Linked DNA regions of Homo sapiens: region 1 is linked to region 2. Evidence: promoter capture Hi-C in human tissues and cell types (Jung and others, 2019). All regions are on one chromosome and are shown on one strand. Each heading gives the region's core, a stretch centred on a gene start or on the middle of the fragment in contact. The rest is flanking DNA. Distances are from core to core; before and after follow the strand shown. Region 1 overlaps AP5B1 (adaptor related protein complex 5 subunit beta 1). Region 2 holds the start of SCYL1 (SCY1 like pseudokinase 1).

Region 1 (6,337 bases), core at 535-3,034, 250 kb after region 2:
TTTCTTTCCTGAGTTCAACCAAATCTATTTTCATTTCTTCCTCTATTTTGTCTATTTCTGTTCTTTGTTTTTAAATTTCCCACCCAAAATGGTTTTGCATGTCTTCAAATGCTTGTTTTGCATATATTTGGTTCTGTTTAGTGTTGTATTACAGCTTTCTTCTTCTTCATGGCTATTGTTTCAGAGGTTTGTGTGAATTTTCCTTGGTTCATATGTGATGAAATTCATTTTCTGATATTTTGCAATAGCTGTATGAACCTATCTTTTCATTATTCATTTTTGTGGTATTGGGTGTTTTACAAGATCCCTAGATAACACGCCCTCTTCTGGCAACATTGTGAAGTCCAGATGCTTTAGTGAATTTGTTTTTGCAGGGGTGGGGGTTGTGGGCCTTCTTTTTTTTTTTGTCTTGGAGGGCAATTAAACTTCTCCATTTGCCTCTCTCTTCACACCCAAATGCCAAAGGACACTTTTCCTTTCTTTTGTGGGTAGTTGCTCCCCAAGGATCTATGTGTTTCCAAGACTGTGGCTTCACATTTCACGTATAACTTTTTTTTGAGACAAAGTCTCGCTCTGTCATCCAGGCTGGAGTGCAGTGGCACAGTCTCAGCTCACTGCAACCTCCACCTCCTCGGTTCAAGCGATTCTCCTGCCTTAGCCTCCTGAGTAGCTGGGACTACAGGCACATGCCACCATACCTGACTAATTTTGTATTTTTAGTAGAGATGGGATTTCACCATGTTGGCCAGGCTGGTCTCGAACTCCTGACCTCAGGTGATCCACCCGTCTTGGCCTCCCAAAGTGCTGGGATTACAGGCGTGAGCCACCGTGCCTGGCCTCACGTGTACTTTTAAACCTCCCACCTATTGTCCCAGCTCTGACACTACTGCAGACACTTTTGAACATTTTCAGGCTCAAGGTGTACTTAGTGTTTTTGGTGAGGTCTTAGATCAAGCTTAAGCCCCATTACAACTCCCTCCTCTCCTTTGCCCCAGTTTTCCTCAGCCAGTCTTGTGGCAGGTGGGGCTGGAATGGGTGCGTGGGAAGGAAAGTCTGAGCTGCCATTTGTTTTTCCTTTTTCTTTCTTTTCTTCTCTTCTCTTTCTTTCTTTTTTCTTTCTTTCTTGTCTCACTCTGTCACCCAGGCTGGAGTGCAGTGGTGCAATCAAAGCTCAGTACAGCCTGGACCTCCTAGGCTCAAATAATCCTCATATCTCAGCCTCCCAAGTAGCTAGAACTGCAGGTGCACACAACCACACCCAGCTAATTTTTGTATTTTTTGTAAAGACAGGTTTTCACCATGTTGCCCAGGCTAGTTTCGAACTCCTGGGCTCAAGGAATCTGTCCACCTCAACCTCCCAAAGTGCTGGGATTACAAACGTGAGTCACCACGCCCGGCCAGGTAATTTCTATGTTATTTGTTTTTCTTGTTCTTTTTAAGTTTGAGCATTCTTGTCTCCAAGTTATCCTGAGGGCTTGCTGTTGCATAATTTTATCTTTTCTCCTCATTCCATATTGTTTTTCTAGGCGACACTGGGGACCTACAGTGCTACCATTGTCCTCCTACCTGAAAGCCTCTGACAAAATATTGTCTTCCCATTCCATTGAAGGTTCAGAGGCCTCAGTGTCCAAGGGAGAATGCCGCCAGGAATGGACACTGCATAGCTTTTTTTGAACCGGAAGTAAAGGCTGCCCCGCTGTCGCTTTGCCTCAGGACCAAGAGCTCTAAGAGGAAGACTGACCCTGACTGTCCACCGAGAAGCTGTTGCTGCCATACAACGGAGACAAGGAGTCCATCGTATCCAGGGGATCCCCTGAAATATCTCTGAGGATTGCCAGGTTCAGTGACAGTGTTAATGAAAGCCTCAAGTGACTCAATACAAGCAGAATAACCAAGGACTCAGACCCTTCAGGAATGAAGTTTGGGTCACCTCATGAAGTAAAAGAACCAAAGGAACATAGAATGGGTATGGAAGAAAGAAGTTGTAAATATCAATCCAGGGTTAACAGATAAAATACAGGATGCTCAGTGTTAAAAGGAAAACTTTAGCTCAGGTAAGTTTCACAGTGTTTAACTGAGCAAAGAACAATTCAAGAATCAGGCAGCCTCTCATGCCAGAGTGGGCTCAGAGACTCCAGTGCAGCCACGTGGTGGAAGATTTATGGACAGAAAGGAAAATGAAGTACAGAAAACACACGTGAGATATAGAAACCAGCCAGATTGGTTACAGATTGGTGTTTGTCTTATCTGAACACAGTTTGAACAGTTGGCCACCTTTGATTAGCCAAAACTCAGTGATTGCCACAAGCGTTGGCTACAGTCTGTTTACAAGTCCATTTAGGTTATAGTTTACGATGTACAGAGAAACCTTTAGGCCAAACTTAAAATATGTAAGGAGGCAGCTTTAGGCTAAACGAGATTTAACACTGGTTATAGCCCGGGCACAGTGGCTCACACCTGTAACCCCAGCACCTTGGGAGGCTGAGGCGGGTGGATCACTTGAGGCCAGGAGTTGGAGACCAGCCTGGCCATCATGGCAAAACCTTGTCTTTACTAAAAATACAAGAATTAGCCAGGTGTGGTGGCACATGCCTGTTATCTCAGCTACTCAGGAGGTTGAGGCACAAGAATAGGCTGAACCCAGGAGGCAGAGGTTGCAGTAAGCCAAGATCACACCACTGCACTCCAGACTGGGCAACAGAGCAAGACTGTCTCAAAAAAAAAAGAAAAAAACAAAAACAACAAAAAAAACCCACCACTTATATCTGAACCTTGGAGAAACAACTACTGGTTTTTTAGTGTAAGTATGTCCTATTAACAACTAAAAAATTCATTGCTTCTCCAAAATTCAAACTTAAATGCACATCCTATATAATATTTTTATTTGCTAAACCTAGGAACCCTAATTAGGGCCTCGTAACTCATTGCACAAAAGATTCATACTTTCTTCCTTGCATGTAAAATAGAGATTAACCGATATCTTTCCCCATCTTTTCCCTTGTTTCATATAAAGTGTATTATTGATAATTGTTAACGAAAAAAAGAAAAGATACACAATTTATAAATTTTGAGAGGAGACTTTATTTCTTATAAAGGGTTAGGCTGGGCCTGGTGGCTCACACCTATAATCCCAGCACTTTGGGAGGCCAAGGCAGGAGGATCACTTGAACCCAGGAGGCCTTAACCAGCCTGGACAACATAGTAAGAACCCATCTCTACAAAAAATTTTACAAATTAGCCAGGTGTGGTGGCATGCACCTGTAGTCTTAGCCACCCCGGAGGCTGAGGCAGGAGGATCACTTTTGCCCAGGAGTTTGAGGTTGTAGTGAGCTATGATCGCACCACTGCACTCCAGCCTCAGAAAGGGAGTGAGACCTGCTGGGAAGCATGTCTCCAGCCAAGACCAGAGACAGGCACTTCAAAGAAGGAGGGGTTAGGGTAGGAGCTTCATGCTCAATGGATTGACTAAACATACACATTCAACAGGTTACATGAGGAGCTATGAATATTCATGAAAGTGGTTCTGACACATGCATATTGAACAAACATGCATGCAACATACAACCCATGGTCACTTTGGGGTGGAGACTTAACATTTAAATGTATTATAATTAGGCCCTATATGGCAAAAGGTCTTTTCAGGACACAAAGACATGCAAGTGCAGGAGCTCTGTAAGCCAGCCAGAACCAGTCCATGATGGGTAGTCACCTTGTCAGGAAAAAGTTACTGAAATCAGTCACTTGTCCAACCAAAGCTGTAGTTATGGCTGGTGGAACAGTGGTTGGAGGTCAGTTAGTCAGCATCTGATGAAGCTGAAAATGTTTTTAATATTGCTTATCTCAAAGCCAGTGCTTGGACCGGGTGCGGTGGCTCACGCCTGTAATCCCAACACTTTGGGAGGCTGAGGCGGGCAGATCACCTGAGGTCAGGAGTTCAAGACCAGCCTGGCCAATATGGTGAAACCCCATCTCTACTAAAAATACAAAAATTAGCCGGGTGTGGTGGCGGACACCTGTAATCCCAGTTACTCAGGAGGCTGAGGCAGGAGAATCACTTGAACCCAGGAGGCAGAGGTTGAAGTGAGCCAAGATCACGCCACTGCACTCCAGCCTGGGTGACAGAGTAAGACTCCGTCTCAAAACAAACAAAATAAAAAGTGGTTTTTGTTTTGTTTTGTTTTTAAGCTTTTTAGCTGCTACAGGGAAAAAAAAACCAAAAACAAAAAACCTTGTGCAGTTAGAACATAGTTTATTCATAAGTTGGGGGCAGGGGAGGCGGGGCATGAAGGTGGGCTCTACATGACTTAACCCTTGCTTGGCATGGCCTTAGGTCCTGTTTACAATTTGGTATCTTATTGCCACAGTGTCTGTTCTGTCCATCTCATGATCCCTATTTTGTTCATTCATGCTCGGCAGCTGTGTCTAAACCATAAAGGGATGGGGTATAACAAGTTGCATCTGACCTCCCAACCCATCAGGGCCAGGAATTGTTTTAAGTTTTTTCTGAGATTCCCTCGGCCACGAGGTGGCATCTGTTCAGTCGGTGGGGTTTTAGGATTTTTAGTTTACATAACTGATTTGATAATCCAGGGCATTTGTTACAGCGTATCCAGGTGAGATTATGACTCAACTATTTAGCACCTCCATCTCAACATGTACTTCCCCAACGGTCATGGCAGAGGAAGAGAGGGCTGGAAAATTGAGCACTGGCAATGACATATTTTGCCCCAAAACTGACCCCTTCACATTTCTTTTTTCTTTTTTGAGACGGAGTCCTGCTCTGTCATCCAGGCTGGAGTGTAGTGGCCCAATCTCAGTTCACTGCAACCTCCACCTCCCGGGTTCAAGCGATTCTCCTGCCTCAGCCTCCTGAGTAGCTGGGATTATGAGCACGCCACCACACCCGGCTAATTTTTGGATTTTTAGTAGAGACGGGTTTCACCATGTTGGCCAGGCTGGTCTCAAATTCTTCACCTCAGGTAATCAACCCACCTCGGCCTCCCAAAATGCTGGGATTACAGGTGTGAGCCACCGCCCCCGGCCCTTGACTCCCTTCACATTTCATTAGCCAGAGCTGGGCTTGTGGCCAGACCTGCCTTGAAGGAGGCAAGGAAGGGTATGTGAACATGAGCAACGTCCACACAGGTGGACAAGGTGACCCGTGTGACTTTGGTTCCCTCTCTTTAGGAAGAATTTTTGGTTGTACTTGGGACAGTTACAGGCATGCTGCTATTGCCATGATCTTCGGGAAGCTGAAGTGATGAGCAGCAGTGTGTGATTCTGAGGACACAGAGGGCTGGGGTCTAGGAGCTATCTCAGGTGGGCTCAGTCAGTGCCATCCTCCCTTTTGGTGCCTCCCTAGAAGTGCTGAGAAGATGCAAAACCAAAAGCTTTTACTCCAACATTGCTTAGCCAAGCTAAGCACATGCATTCCCTATGATTCAGCAATTCTGCTCCTAGCATGTATCCCAGAGAATTGTCCCATGGGTCCATAGGGGCATATAAGAATGGCCATTGCAGCAAAGTTCTGGTTGGGGTAGGGGGAGCTGAAAGTCATCTGGTGTCCACAACTGGAGGAATGGATGGATAAAATGGGATGGATGCACAAGTGGGCAGACAGATGGGTGAAAGGATGGTCAGTCCTTACATGGACCAGTTTCCTTATTCTTAGGCTAAGGATTAGCATCTCCAGGCAAAAAGAAAACGTTTCTGGATTCCCTTGCCACTGGAGTTCCGTGGAAGAGAGAAATGGAGTCCACTAATGAGGTGTCCTTTGAAGGATATGGATGGAGGACACAGGGCCAAGGAAGTTTGCTCTGCGGGCCCAGCCTTGGAGATGTTCAGTCCTTCTGCAGCAGCACCACGCTTCTGGCTTTGTGGGTGTCAGGAGGCAGGAGTGGCAGTCCCACCCCATGTCCCAGGGCCCAAGCCCAGCTTCCTGGGTGCTTACAGGGGATGGCAGGCAGGACAGTACGTTCTGATCCCAGCTCCAGTGGGAGCTTCCTGGAGGCGACTTCTCCAGCCTTCCCATGTACTTTAAGTACCCTGATTCCCTTAAATCCCCTTCTGCCAAAAACAGCTGGAGAAGTTTCTGTTTCCTGAAACTGACCCCTTCCTGATTTGGAAATGACTTGCCGAGGTGACAAAGCAAGTTATTGCCACATCTCAAGTTTGAGACAGGCCTCCTGACTCCACCTATTAACAGTACCACTGTCCCAGGCCCTTTCTTTTTTTTCTTTTTTTGAGACAGAGCCTTGCTCTGTCGCCCAGGCTGGAGTGCAGTGGCGTGATCTCGGCTCACTGCAACTTCTGCCTCCCAGGTTCAAGTAATTCTCCT
Region 2 (6,336 bases), core at 3,837-6,336:
ATGATGGCCAGGCTGATCTCAAACTTTTGACCTCATGTGATCCGCCCGCCTTGGCCTCCCAAAGTGCTGGGATTACAGGTGTGAGCCACTGCACCTGGCCCATATTCACAGGTTCTGAGAGTTAGGACATGGACATCTTTGAGGGGCTAGTATTCTGCCGACCACAATAGGCCAGAACCCTGAACAGTTTACTTTTTAGGCATCATATTTGCTAAAAACAAAACAAACAAAAAAACCAAACCAAACAAAGAAGTAAAAATCAAAACAAACAAAAAACACAGAGCCATTTTTTGGAAAGACAATAATAGGAAGTCAAAATAATGTTAATTTTGGAGTTATTATTGTTTATTTTATTTTATTTTATTTTTGAGATGGAGTCTCCCTCTGTCCCAGGCTGGAGTGCAGTGGCGTGATCTCGGCTCACTGCAACCTCCGCCTCCCGGGTTCAAGCGATTCTCCTGCCTCAGCCTCCAGAGTAGCTGGAATTACAGGCGCATGCCACCACGCCCGGCTAATTTTTGTATTTTTAGTAGAGACGGGCTTTCAGTACGTTGGCCAGGCTGGTCTCGAACTCCTGACCTCGTGATCCACCCACCTCGGCCTTCCAAAGTGGTGGGATTACAGGCGTGAGCCACCAAGCCCGGCAGCTTGAAGTTATTCTTACATGCTTTGGCAGATGTTAAAACGTTTGTTTTTTTTAAAATTCTCAACATTTAGATCTAGGACAGAGCACAATTTAAATACTTTCTAAAATTAAATTTGGCTGTTACATAAGATTCAGCATTGTTTACAGCAGCTTTTCTGTTTCATGCGTTATAATATAAGATAAAGTAGAAAGAACACCAAAGGTTTTCCTATGATAAGTCATCAACAAAATAAGTGTGGGCCATTAGCAAGTAGCTCTTGATATCTTACAGTGGGCTGAACAACAAATACTTTCTCTTGAAGAATTTGGATCCCTGTTAGCTAAGCTTAAAGTTCCCACTATTTTATTTTATTATTTTATTTATTTATTTATTTTTGAGACGAAGTCTCACTCTTGTCCCCCAGGCTGGAGTGCAATGGCGCAATCTTGGCTCACTGCAACCTCCGCCTCCCAGGTTCAAGCAATTCTCCCTCAGCCTCCTGAGTAGCTGGGATTACAGGCATGTGCCACCACGCCAGGCTAATTTTTTTTTTTTTTTTTTTGAGACAGAGTCTCGCTCTGTTGCCCAGGCTGGAGTGCAGTGGTGCGATCTTGGCTCACTGCAAGCTCCGCCTCCCAGGTTCACGCCATTCTTCTGCCTCAGCCTCTGGAGTAGCTGGGACTACAGTCGCCTGCCACCACGCCCGGCTAATTTTTTTTGTATTTTTAGTAGAGACGGGGTTTCATTGTGTTAGCCAGGATGGTCTCGATCTCCTGACCTCGTGATCCGCCCGCCTCGGCCTCCCAAAGTGCTGGGATTACAGGCGTGAGCCACTGCGCCTGGCCTCGCCTGGCTAATTTTTGTATTTTTAGTAGAGACGGGGTTTCACCATGTTGGCCAGGCTGGTCTTGAACTCCTGACCTCAGGTGAGCCATCCGCCTCGGCCTCCCAAAGTGCTGGGATTACAGGCGTGAGCTACCGTGCCCATCCAAGTTCCCACTTTTTTTTTGAGATGGAGTCTCGCTCTGTCGTCCAGGCTGGAGTGCAGTGGTGCGATCTCGGCTCACTGCAACCTCCACCTCCCAGATTCAAGCGATTCTCCTGCCTCAGCCTTCCCAGTAGCTGGGATTACAGGTGCCCACCACCACACCTGGCTAATTTTTGTGTTTTTAGTAGAGACGGGGTTTCAACATATGTGTAGGGTCCAGCCCTACGGGGCTTAGCATGTGTTCTCCCCCTGTGTGGAGACTAGAGATTGTAATAAATAAAGACACAAGACAAAGAGATAAAGAGAAAACAGCTGGGCCCCAGGGACCACTACCATCAAGACGCGGAGACCGGTAGTGGCCCCAAATGGCTGGGCTCGCTGATATTTATTGTATACAAGACAAGGGGGCAGGGTAAGGAGGGTGAATCTTCTAAGTGATTGACAAGGTGAAGCAGGTCAGGTGATTACAGGATAGGGGGCCCTTCCCTTTTAGGTAGCCGAAGCAGAGAGAGAAGGCAGCATACGTCAGCGTTTTCTTCTCTGCTCTTATAAGAAAGATCAAAGACTTTAAGACTTTCACTATTTCTTCTACCTCTATCTACTACGAATTTCAAAGACGAACCAGGAGTATGGGAGGAGCATGAAAGTGGACAAAGAGCGTGAGCATTGAAGCACAGCACCACAGGGAGGGGTTTAGGCTTCTGGATGACTGCGGGCAGGCCTGGATAATATCCAGCCTTCCACAAGAAGCTGGTGGAGCAGAGTGTCCCCTGACTCCTCCAAGGAAAGGAGACTCCCTTTCGCGGTCTGCTAAGTAACGGGTGCCTTCCCAGACACTGGCGTTACCGCTTGACCAAAGAGCCCTCAAGAGGCCCTTATGCGGGCGTGACAGAAGGCTCACCTCTTGCCTTCTAGGTCACTTCTCACAATGTCCCTTCAGCACCTGACCCTATACCCGCCGGTTATTCCTAGGTTATATTAGTAATGCAACAAAGAGTAATATTAAAAGCTAATGATTAATAATGCTTATAACAATGATTGATAATTGTTCATGACCATCTCTATATCTAATTTGTATTATGACTATTCTTATTCTAACTATTTTCTTTTTTATACTGAAACAGTTTGTGCCTTCAATCTCTTGCCTCCGCACCTAGGTATTCCTCCGCCCACACATATGTGGGGGAAAGGAAGCGAGATCAGACTGTTACTGTGTCTATGCAGAAAAAAAGAAGACATAAGAAACTCCGTTTTGATCTGTACTAAGAAAAATTCTTCTGCTTTGAGATGCTGTTAATCTGTAACTTTAGTTCCAACCCTGTGCTCACAGAAACATGCGCTGTATTGAATCAAGGTTTAAGGGATTTAGGGCTGTGCAGGATGTGCCTTGTTAACTATATGTTTGCAAGCAGTATGCTTGGTAAAAGTCATCGCCATTCTCCATTCTCTATTAACCAGGGACATGATGCACTGTGCAAAGCCACAGGGACCTCTGCCCGAGAAAGCCTGGGTATTGTCTCCCCGACTGAGACAGCCTGATATGGCCTTGTGGGAAGGGAAAGACCTTACCATCCCCCAGCCCGACACCCGTAAAGGGTCTGTGCTGAGAATTAGTAAAAGAGGAAGATCTCTTTGCGGTTGAGATAAGAGGAAGGCCTCTGTTTCCCGTATGTCCCTGGGAATGGAATGTCTTGGTGTAAAGCCCACCAGTCATTCTATTCTGAGATAGGAGAAAACTGCCCTATGGCTGGAGGTGAGATATGCTAGCGGTGATACTGCTCTGTTACTCTTTGCTACACTGAGATGTTTGGGTAAAGAGAAACATAAATCCAGCCTACGTGCACATCCGGGCACAGTACCTTCCCTTGAACTTATTTATGATGCAGATTCCTTTACTCACATGTTTTCCTGCTGACCTTCTTCCCACCATCACCCTGTTCTGCCGCAGTCCCCTTGCAGAGATAGTGAAAATAGTAATCAGTAAATACTGAGGGAACTGAGAGACCAGCGCCGGTGCAGGTCCTCGTATACTGAGTGTGCCGGTCCCCTGGGCCCACTGTTCTTTCTCTATACTTTGTGTCTTATTTCTTTTCTCAGTCTCTTGTCTCCACCTGACGAGAAATACCCACAGGTGTGGAGGGGCAGGCCCCCTTCAAACATGTTGGTCAGGCTGACCTGGAACTCCTGACCTCAGGTGATCCTCCAGCCTCGGCCTCCCAAAGTGCTGAGATTACAAGCGTGAACCACTGTGCCTGGCCCTCACCCCAGTTTATAGATGGGGGACCTAACGCACCCAAAGGGAACTGTGTGAGTTCTCACATCCAATGAGGGGCTGAACCGTGATTGAAACCCAGCACCGTCTCACTGTGGCATCTCTGCCCTTGAGTTATCTCCCAAAGGCATCCCAACCAGACTTTTCATAACCAGTCCCAGAATCTCACCAGTGCTCCATAGCTGTGGTTGAGGCACTGTCCCCAAGCCTGGGTCCTGAGACCCTACCAGCAGAAGAACCACTGCCTGTCCAGCCCCTCCTACACAGCTCAGGGGCTGGATCCCCACCAGTGTGATGTGCTGATTGAGCTAACACCACTCCATGGCTGTCTACACAGGCACTGAGAGATGCAATCCGTTGGCTTGAGAGCCGGGCAGCTGAGCCCAGGAGAGCAGGGTCCCCTCCCAGCCCTTTGGCCTCTTCCAGACCTGCCCAGTTGCTCCTTCTCCCTCCCTCCTTTCCTGGGGTCACTTCTTCTTCCCTCCTCAGTCTCTCCTTCCTCCATTCCCTGGGTGCCCGCCCCTGCCCCGGGGTTCTGGACCTCCTTGGAACCTTGGATTCACTCTCTGCCTCTCACCCACGCTCTTTCTCTGGGGCGTCTCCTCGTGCTTCTCTCATGGTCACTTCACCAGGACCGACTCCTCCCCGGAGCCTGGAGGCACCCACTTGCTGGTGGGAGAGAGTGTCTGGCGTGGGGCCAGTCTCCCTCTCTGGGTCTCTGCCTCACTCCTCACTGCACCCTCTCATGCCTGTCAGTCTTTCTACCTCTCCCCCTTTTTGCCTCGGTTTCCCCATCCCTCTGTCCCTTCTTAAGCTCTCATCCTTACAGTACGCTAGAAGGCAGGCTCTATTATCCTTTAGGATTTAGGCCTCTTTAGATAAAAGGGCTCACAGGCTTGGAGGGTTTTAAGTGACTTACCCGGCGGCGGAGTACTGATCTTAGTACCGCCCGCCGCCCCGGACTGCCCCGCCCCTCCCTAGCCCCCCCATCCCCGCCCCTCCCTAGCCCCCCCATCCCCGCCCCTCCCTAGCCCCCCCATCCCCGCCCCTCTCCCGCCCCTCCCTTGTCCCCGCCCCTTCCCGCCCCAACTCAGGTTCTGCCCCACCCCGCCCCAATTCACGTCCTGCTCCGCCCCGACGTAGGCCCCGCCCTGGCCCCCGGGCCCCGCCCCCGTCTGACGCAGGCCCCGCCCCCTCTCCGCCCCGCCCCGGCTCGGGCGGCCGGAGGACCCGGAGCTAAGGCGCCCGAACCCGCGGCGGCGGTGGGGACGATGTGGTTCTTTGCCCGGGACCCGGTCCGGGACTTTCCGTTCGAGCTCATCCCGGAGCCCCCAGAGGGCGGCCTGCCCGGGCCCTGGGCCCTGCACCGCGGCCGCAAGAAGGTGAGTGCGGCCGAGCTCCGTAGGCCGCGGTCGACCTGGGCCTTGCCTATTCCGCGCCGCCGACCCCGTCGCGTTGCGCCCGGCCTGACGTGGCGGCGGAACCAAGGGGTAGCAGGCCGGGGAGGGGGCGGGCAGTGCCTACGTGGCGGGCGGAGGGACCGAGGGACCGACAGGCGGACAGGGCCGGGGTCACGTGGGCCCGGCGAAGTGTCCCTAAGGCTGACCTGGGGAGAGACCTGGCTGCGGGCCCTTGTCTTCCGGCCACACAACAGCTCTGGGACCATCTCAGGCCCCGCTGCCCTCCCCTAGGCCACAGGCAGCCCCGTGTCCATCTTCGTCTATGATGTGAAGCCTGGCGCGGAAGAGCAGACCCAGGTGGCCAAAGCTGCCTTCAAGCGCTTCAAAACTCTACGGCACCCCAACATCCTGGCTTACATCGATGGACTGGAGGTACCTGCTGCCTTGCCTGCCCGTCTCTGCCCCTCACGATGTCCTGGTTACCCACTCCTGTCTCCCCTCCTGCCCTGTTTCCACCCTATGTGCCCCAGCACCCCCAGATTTGGTTTCCTCTTCCCCATCTCTCCCAACTTCAAGTCGCTTATCTCTCCTTCCTCTCTGCCCCTCCGCCCTTGATAACCCTGTGTCCCCTTCCCCAGACAGAAAAATGCCTCCACGTCGTGACAGAGGCTGTGACCCCGTTGGGAATATACCTCAAGGCGAGAGTGGAGGCTGGTGGCCTGAAGGAGCTGGAGATCTCCTGGGGGCTACACCAGATCGTGGTGAGGTGGGGGGCAGTGGTGATGAGAGCAGGGATGGGGGGTTGCAGGTGCTGGGGCGTGATGGCTCCTTTTGCCCCCAGAAAGCCCTCAGCTTCCTGGTCAACGACTGCAGCCTCATCCACAACAATGTCTGCATGGCCGCCGTGTTCGTGGACCGAGCTGGCGAGTGGAAGCTTGGGGGCCTGGACTACATGTATTCGGCCCAGGGCAACGGTGGGGGACCTCCCCGCAAGGGGATCCCCGAGCTTGAGCAGTATGACCCCCCGGAGTTGGCTGACAGCAGTGGCAG

Evidence for each region. The method cuts DNA at HindIII sites, captures the fragments that hold promoters and counts their contacts. A contact is called where the count stands out against the background at its distance.
Region 1: a contact is called between a fragment that was not itself captured here and the fragment with the promoter of SCYL1 in region 2, in 1 of the 25 tissues and cell types used here (stomach).

What each region holds. Positions count from the first base shown.
Region 1 is chr11:65,769,666-65,776,002 of GRCh38, forward strand. AP5B1 (adaptor related protein complex 5 subunit beta 1) reads right to left here. Exons shown (of 2, transcript NM_138368.5): 2 at 4,233-6,337. Among named protein-coding and RNA genes, the nearest start is that of AP5B1, 8.1 kb to the right of the region's middle. The HindIII fragment of the contact is 6,006 bases long and covers 1-4,787 here.
Region 2 is chr11:65,519,997-65,526,332 of GRCh38, forward strand. SCYL1 (SCY1 like pseudokinase 1) reads left to right here and starts at 5,087. Exons shown (of 18, transcript NM_020680.4): 1 at 5,087-5,268; 2 at 5,578-5,718; 3 at 5,925-6,047; 4 at 6,128-6,336. The coding sequence starts at 5,158. RefSeq lists a silencer at 4,935-5,434. The HindIII fragment of the contact is 17,278 bases long and covers 1-6,336 here.